Regions from separate parts of the Homo sapiens genome. Here region 2 is linked to region 1. The links are contacts of gene promoters, found by promoter capture Hi-C in blood cells and fetal thymus (Javierre and others, 2016). All regions are on one chromosome and are shown on one strand. The core of a region is centred on a gene start or on the middle of the fragment in contact, and the rest is flanking DNA. Distances in the headings are between cores, read along the strand shown.

Region 1 (3,855 bases), core at 493-2,992:
CTGCGTCAGTGACTGAGACATGGTGTTTTTCCTGTATTCCTGTTCAATTCCTGCCCTGGAACTCTGGGCCCGACTGTGGACATGTCCCCTCACCTGCAAGGGACTCCATCAGGGTACTGCTCTCTTTAGCACCTGTGGGCTCTCCTCCTGGCTCCATCTTGCAGAACACCAGCAGTTGGAACAATTTCTGCTTAGGTAAAAGAAAAGGAAAATAAATCACAGCCAGGGCTAGGTACAGGGGCCAGGGGCAGTGAGGTCAGAATGCCTTCAGAGGAAACTGTCAGAACAGGCCCTGTGGGAGCTGCATCACCCAGCTGGGCCCACTCCTGTCACTAGCAATCAAGGTCCTGGCTCAACAGACACTCCCAGAAGCGGGTGTTCTGTTCTGTGGGATGCCCAGGAACTCTGGTCCAGGCTCTGCGGGTCCCCCTCCACCCAGGGCTGACGCAGAGCACAGGTGGGCGTGGCCACAGCTTCCTAGCTCCATGCTGAGGAAGCCCGCGCCCTCCAGCAGTCTTCAAATGTCTAGAGAAATTCCCATGGGTTTTAAAATTTTCTTGGTAGTTATAAGGATTTGAATATAAAAATGTTAAACCAGAAGAAAAGAACAACTTATTTGAATGGTAAAGTTTTGGAATGAGGAATGATTTTTCTAAGCCTGACATCAGATGTCTGACAAATTCAACTACATAAAAAAATTTAATGTAAAAAAAAAAAACCAAAAAGGGAGGAATACGTGCAATGCAAAGATTCATCCCTATCTGATAAAGACCTCTATATATTAATGAGAAAGGAAGGAAAATTGGCAAAGATCATGAATAGGTAACTCACAAAGAAGAAAAACCAGTAGGCAATACATTTTTTTAGGTCTCACCTCAAGTGCAATTAAGAAATGTAATTTGGCTGGGTGCTGTGGCTCACAGTTGTAATCCTAGCACTTCAAAAGGCTCAGGATGGAGGACTGACTGATTACAAGAGTTCCTGACCAGCCTGGGCAACATAGTGAGACCCCGTCTCTACAAAAAATCAAAAAATTAGCCAGGTGTGATGGTGGGCGTCTGTAGTCCCAGCTACTAGGGAGGCTGAGGTGGGAGGACTGCCTGAGCCCAGGAGGTCTAGGCTGGGGTGAACCGAGATTTCGCCACTGCACTCCAGCTGGGCGTTGGAGTGAGACCCTGTCTTAAAAAAATAAGTAAATAAAGTGATTAATTAGTAAATTTAATTTAAGCCGCCTGTAATCCCGCCTGCCAGGGAGGCTGAGCGGGAGGATCGCTTGAGCCCAGGAGTAGGAGGCCAGCCTGGGAAACATAGCGAGACCCCGCCGCTTTTACAAAAAGGTAATTTAAAGTGCAATTTTTTAGTCTGGAAGCAGATTTTTGCAAGTACCTTACCGGCAAGAATTAGGGAACAGGCCCTCCTGTTCACAGCTGGGAAGAAGCTCGATGAGCTGGGCCGGTGGGAAATTTGACAACTTACAAAGGCCTGAAGACGCGCAGCGGGGACTCAGCTCGCAGGAAGCCCCGCACGTGTCGGACCCCGGGTACGCACCTGCAGGGCCGCCTCCCCCACGCCGCGCCCGAGAGCGGCTGGGGCCTGCACTGCAAGGAGAGCGCGGGACGCGCGGGCCACGGCGGCGGTGACCGCCCCGTTCTCTCGGCCGCGCCCTCAGCCCTCCCGAATCGACACCCCAGCAAGAGAAGCCGGGGCCTCAGCGTCCAGAGCAGCTGGACTGCACCCGCTACGGTCCCCGCCCCGTCGCGCGCCGGAAACGCCAGTCTCCACCCCTGGCCCGCCCCCTCGGCACTTCCGGCGACGCTCTGGGCAGCGGGAGGACAGCGCGCTCGGCGGCGGGAGAGCGGGACGGCCCAGCCGCGGCGCCTTCAGCTCATCGGTTGCCCGCAGGCGCCGGCCGAGTCCTTCCTGCCGGGCAGGAAGCCCTGCCTCGTGGGGGGCAAGGTCGAGCCGTTGGCGCGCCGGGATCCGGCTCGAGCCAACTGAGGACCGGGCACCCGCAGGACGTGTCAGGAGGTGTCGAAGGCCCGCTGTGGGGCGGCCACGCGCGTTCCCGTCCGTTCCCCGCGGCGTCCCGCGCTTGTCCCGGGTCCCGCTCGGCTCACGGGACCCTCCAGGCCCCCGGGGCTGTGGCAGCACGCGGGTCCCGAGCGTGGGCTTCCTTGGGGCCGAGAGCTTGGAGCGCCCCAGGCGCTGCCCCCCGCCTCCCTGCAGGACGCCGCCCTCGCGTCTCCGCTGCAGAGAAGCCCTTGCTGCCCGCCTCTCGCGGGCTCTGGGCTCTTTCTCACCAGGGACCGAGCTCTCATTCGTTCAGCCTTCCCCGGGCAAGATGCACCTCCTGTCCAAGTCTCTCGCCCTTCCGCCTGCCGCAGACCGAAGGTCACGCATCTCCAGCTGGAATGCTGCAAAAGTGACGCTTTTCATCATGGGTGCAAAGTGTACAGCTGCAATGTGGACTTGTTCCCTCTTACAACGAGTAGACAGACCCTCTCTGGGGAGAAAAGAAAGGCTGAAGAACCGATTCCCATGAGAGAACCCTAAGAAGACAGCAACAGAGGGCCAGACGCGCCCCTGGAACTGGACCCTGGACTGGGGCGGGAGGGCCACAGCCTTGGGAGCCCAGGTCCCTGCCCGCGCCTCCGACAGTCCCGCGCCGCCGCCACCCGGCATCTGCCTCTGGGCCTCCACATCTCGTGCCTGGAACCGCGTTCATTGCGCACTGCACCAGTAAACACCTGAACACTCCCACCACATGCTGCACGTTTATTTGTAACAAATTAGAAGCTGTTGTAAAAGATAAAAATTAAAACACTTAGACTGGGTGGGCGAGAGGCTCATGAATGTAATCCCAGCACTTTGGGAGGCCAAGGCAGGAGGATTGTTTGAGTCCAGGAGTTTCAGACCAGCCTGAGCAACATAGTTAGAACCGTGTCGACTAAAAATTTTTTTTAAAAATTAGCCGGGCGTGGTGGCCGGCGCCTGTGGTACCAGCTACTCGGGAGGCTGAGGCGGGGGGACCACTTGAGCTCGGGAGGCGGAGGCTGCAGTGAGCCGAGATTGGCACTGCACTCCAGCCTGGGTGACAGAGATTCTGTCGCAAAACAAAAACAACAACAACAACACACACCACACACACACACATCTAAAAGAGATGATGTAGAAGTACAAGTAACCGTTTCCCTCTGCATCCCAGTGGAACGTCGTGGGTCTTCTGAAGACCCTCTCTTGCCCTGCAGGCTCCGGTACTCCAAGCACGCGAGTCTGCGCAGGAGGCGCTTCGCTCTCCGGAGCTCCCCACTGCCTCCTAGACACAGTCCCGGCTCCTTACCCCGGGCGGAGGCTCTTCCAGACGGGTCCCGACTGCCTCTGTATGCCCACTGCTGCCGTGCCAGAAGCCACTGCCCTCTCCTCGCCCCTTTCCAAATGTGCCCTGCCTCAGGCCCGTGTCATGCTGTTCCCTGTGCCGCTTTCGCCCGTCCCCTCACTCCCCGCCACCAGAACCGGGAAGGCGGTGCCCCCTTTCCAGGCCCAACTTCCGGCACTGAACCTCTAGGAGTCCGCAGCCTCCTCCGCCCGGGCCTCTCCCCGCTGGCTCAGACCGCAGGGCCAGCAGCCCCGCCCACACGGAAGCCCCGCCCATCAGGCCGACCCCGCCCCTCCTGCCTCGGCCCCGCCCTCGCCTTGGCCCCGCCTCCTCGCTGGCAGCCGGCAGGCGCAGTCGGGGTCGTGGGACCCAGGAGGGGCCTCCAGCAGGTGCCTTGGCGAAGATCCTGGACTGCGTCACAGCCCAGGGTAGCCGTCCCGCGGCCCGGCTTTGGAGCTTCCCACGGACACCCGGGGCTC
Region 2 (3,718 bases), core at 981-3,480, 190 kb before region 1:
TGCTGTTCTGTGTGTGAGCTTCGTGGTGGTGGGGCCGTGTAGCGGGTGCTGTTCTGTGTGTGAGCTTCGTGGTGGTGGGGCCGTGTAGCGGGTGCTGTTCTGTGTCTGAGCTTCGTGGTGGTGGGGCCGTGTAGCGGGTGCTGTTCTGTGTCTGAGCTTCGTGGTGGTGGGGCCGTGTAGCGGGTGCTGTTCTGTGTCTGAGCTTCGTGGTGGTGGGGTCGTGTAGCGGGTGCTGTTCTGTGTGTGAGCTTCGTGGTGATGGGGCCGTGTAGCGGGTGCTGTTCTGTGTCTGAGCTTCGTGGTGGTGGGGCCGTGTAGCGGGTGCTGTTCTGTGTCTGAGCTTCGTGGTGGTGGGGCCGTGTAGCGGGTGCTGTTCTGTGTCTGAGCTTCGTGGTGGTGGGGCCGTGTAGCGGGTGCTGTTCTGTGTCTGAGCTTCGTGGTGATGGGGTCGTGTAGCGGGTGCTGTTCTGTGTGTGAGCTTCGTGGTGATGGGGTCGTGTAGCGGGTGCTGTTTTGTGTGTGAGCTTCGTGGTGGTGGGGTTGTGGAGCAGGTGCTGTTTTGTGTGTGAGCTTCTTGGTGGTGGGGTCATGTAGCGGGTGCCATTCTGTGTCTGACTTCTTTTGTTCATCACTTTTCATGGACTGAATTGTGTCCCCCACCAAGTTCATAGATGGAAACCCTAACCCCCAATGTGACTACGTTTGGGGATGGGGTCTTCAAACAGGTAATTGAGGTTAAATGGGATTATACGTGTTTGGCCCTGATCCACTAGGACTAATGTCCTTACAAGAATAAAAAGTGCCACCAGGGGCACATGCCCAGAGGAAAAGCCACGGGAGGACAGTACAAGCCAGGAAGGGAGACCTCACCAGAAACCAGCCTTGCCAGAGCCTCGGTGCGGCCCCAGCCTTGTGAGAAAGTGTGTTTCTGTTGTCGTAGCCGCCCACTGCAGAGCATTCCATGGCAGCAGCCAGGCAGCCGTAGGCGCCCACGTTTCTCACTCCGCTACATTGCCGCGCCTGGCGGGAACTCATTCTTTTTCCCTGCCGTGTGGTGTTCTGTGATATGGATACGCCATGTGTGTCCATCTTGCAGTTGATGGGTGGGTATCTGGAGTCTCTCCCATCCTTGCCAGTTATGAAGCTGCTGTCTTGGGTGTGTCTCTGGGTGCTGGTAGCCCTCGTTTGTGTGGAGTTGCTGCCTCAGAGGGTGATGGACACTGAGCTTTGGAAGCTGTCCCAGGTAGCTGTCCCAGCCTGCCAGCAGCAGCATGTGAGCATTGTGGCTGGCCCGTGGCCTTGGCCAGGATTCTCAGGCCCGTGTCTCCTGTTCTTGCCATGCTGGGGGGTGTGGGGCCTCACGCCCATCCCGCTGGCTGGCATTGCTGGGCATCTTTTTCTTCACTCAGGTCTCCTGGTGGTGCCCTTCTTTACTGTAAAGGGCCTCTTTGGGTGTTGGCCTGTTTTTGTGTGATTTGCCTTTTGGCTGATTTGTGGGAGTTTGTTTTTGTTGTGGATGTTTTCCGCCCCACACGTCTGCTTACAGCGAGGGACCTGCTCTTCCACGGCATCTGGTTTTTTAGCCTTTTATGAGTAGTGCTCTTTGTGTCCTGTTTAAGAAATATTTGTCTATCCCACATTCATGTTTTCTTCTAGAAGCTTGGCTATTTTAGCTTTTATATTTTAAGCCTGAGGCTTCTTGAATTAATTTTTACCTGTGGTCTGAGGTAGGGGCCAGAGTCCTTTTGTCTCCCCATGGAGACACATGTATTGAAATGAGATCCTGACCCACTCAGGTGCAGGGGCGCCTGCGTCACTCGGGTGAGCAGATGTATGGGCTGTTCCCAGACTCTCCATCCTCACTGTTGACCCACTTGTCTGTGCCCTTCGTTATTCCTGAATGCTTACTCTTCCAGACCACCTTAGAAACACTGGACCGGGTTCTCGGCCTCACCAAGGAACCAGCCTCCAAATCATAGATTTGCATTTTCTTCTTCTTAGGATTTCAGCCACACACACAACAAACACTTCAGATCCCTGGCCCCGCCTGCCTCCCTCCTGTTCTCAGCACCAGGGGGACTCATGCTCCATAACTTCCACATGTTGGCCCGGCGCCCCTGCTGTAGAATTTTTCCTCAGTTATTTGAGAGTGTTTCTGGCTTCTCTTCTTTGTATGTTCCAACTGGTGTTTGCCACTGTCTTGCAGGGCTTTGGTTTTCACACATCTTTGCTTCATAATCAGTTCTGGTTACCCCTCTGAAGTGAGTGGGTTTTTATTGTGGTTTTCCCGTGGTTTTTGCAGATACCACTGTCCTTGCAAGGGCCGCATGAAGTTTGCTGAGGTCACCACGCCTTTCCAGGGAGCTGAGCCGGATTTGCTGTGTGGTCTTCGGAGGGGCTGTCCCAGGGCCTGGGAGTGGGGGGATGTCTGCTGTGAGTCTCTTTAGACAGCAGTGACCTGAGGGGTCCTTGAGGGCCTAGGCAGGATTCCTGGCCAGCCTGCCCCTCAGTAGCTGGCACAGACAGAGTGGGTCCTGGGCCGATGACCCAGCCCAAAGGGTGGCACAGGTGCAGAGGGTCGCGGGCCCGCCAAGGACAGCTGCACCTGGCCGCCTGGCACCTCTGCCGGACGAGCTGAACTCGGCACTCCGGGGCCATGAAGTCCCACTAATACTTGTTTTTTTGCAGCTGACATACAAAACACCAATAGCTTCAGCTGAAATGGATTTTTAAAAGTGTCATTTTATGGAGAATTTTACTTTCCATCTTGTTGTTTATTAGGCTCTTAAAGGGAAAGCTTGTAATGCATCCATTGATCGAAATACCAATTGAATAGATGTGAGCACATAAAATACATAAAATAGTCCCAGCCCCTCATAATGGAGCACGACGTTTGTAACGGAGGCAGTGTCATTAGTATTGCCCCCTGCCACCCAGCCAGGCTGCAGAGGCGCCTCCGAATCCTTCTTATTCATTACTGGGGTGAGACGGGGCAGGGATGGCCCTCGGAAGGACCAGTGCCCAGTGAGGAAGTCCTCAGATGTCACAACAGAGCCTCCACCCCACGAGTCAGCCCAGGGGCCGGGGGAGCCAGCCGTGCTCAGCCTCAGCTGGACCAGTCGCACTCAAGGCTGTCCCTGTCCTCAGGGGCCCCCAAACAAGGCTGCTGTCCCTAAGGCTGCATGGCTCTTTCCCCTCATGGCGCCCCTGGCCGCTGGTGCAGGGCTCTCAGCTCCCACCCAGGCCTGTAACCCTGCCTGCCTGCTGAAGGTGTATCCTGGAAAGCCAAGCGGCTGGACGGTCTCTGCAGGCCCCCATACTGGGAGGTAGATGCTGTGGGGGTGACAGCGGGACTAGAGAGCCCATCTGGCCATGGTGCCGGAGCCCCTGCTGAACAGCAGCTACTGCCCCAGGTACCTGGAGGCCCCTTGGAGCTGGTGAGGGCCCCACGGTCTGGGTATAGGGGTTTGGAGGATAGGGGGCCAGACTTGTGAGGAGTAAGTTAGAAGAGGGTTCTTTCTGTGAGATGAGGTGGCCATAGCCATCGTGAGGCCTGCGTGGCCACCACGTAGTCAGATTTCAGCCCTGGCAGCCACAGGCCCTTGAGCATTTAGCCCTGCCCCTGAGATCGTGGGGGCAGGGTCCAGGAGCCGGGAGCCCGCCTAGCACCCCCACTGCACGCCTCTGCTCTGTCTGGCCTGAGCGCCCCTCCCTGCCG

The links. Contacts are between HindIII fragments. The CHiCAGO score rates a contact against its expected background, and 5 or more counts as called.
Region 2: a fragment that was not itself captured here is called in contact with the fragment with the promoter of ZNF696 in region 1 in 1 of 17 cell types (M1 macrophages); the score reaches 5.6 in M1 macrophages.

The regions. Positions count from the first base shown.
Region 1 is chr8:143,289,304-143,293,158 of GRCh38, reverse strand. It overlaps ZNF696 (zinc finger protein 696), which reads right to left and starts at 1,742. Exons shown (of 3, transcript NM_030895.3): 1 at 1,392-1,742; 2 at 94-187. The coding sequence starts at 157. RefSeq lists a silencer at 1,488-2,207 and an enhancer at 1,678-2,253. The HindIII fragment of the contact is 14,284 bases long and covers 1-3,855 here.
Region 2 is chr8:143,483,532-143,487,249 of GRCh38, reverse strand. The region is part of intron 4 of ZC3H3 (zinc finger CCCH-type containing 3); the gene reads left to right. Among named protein-coding and RNA genes, the nearest start is that of SNORD149, 21 kb to the left of the region's middle. The HindIII fragment of the contact is 1,138 bases long and covers 1,662-2,799 here.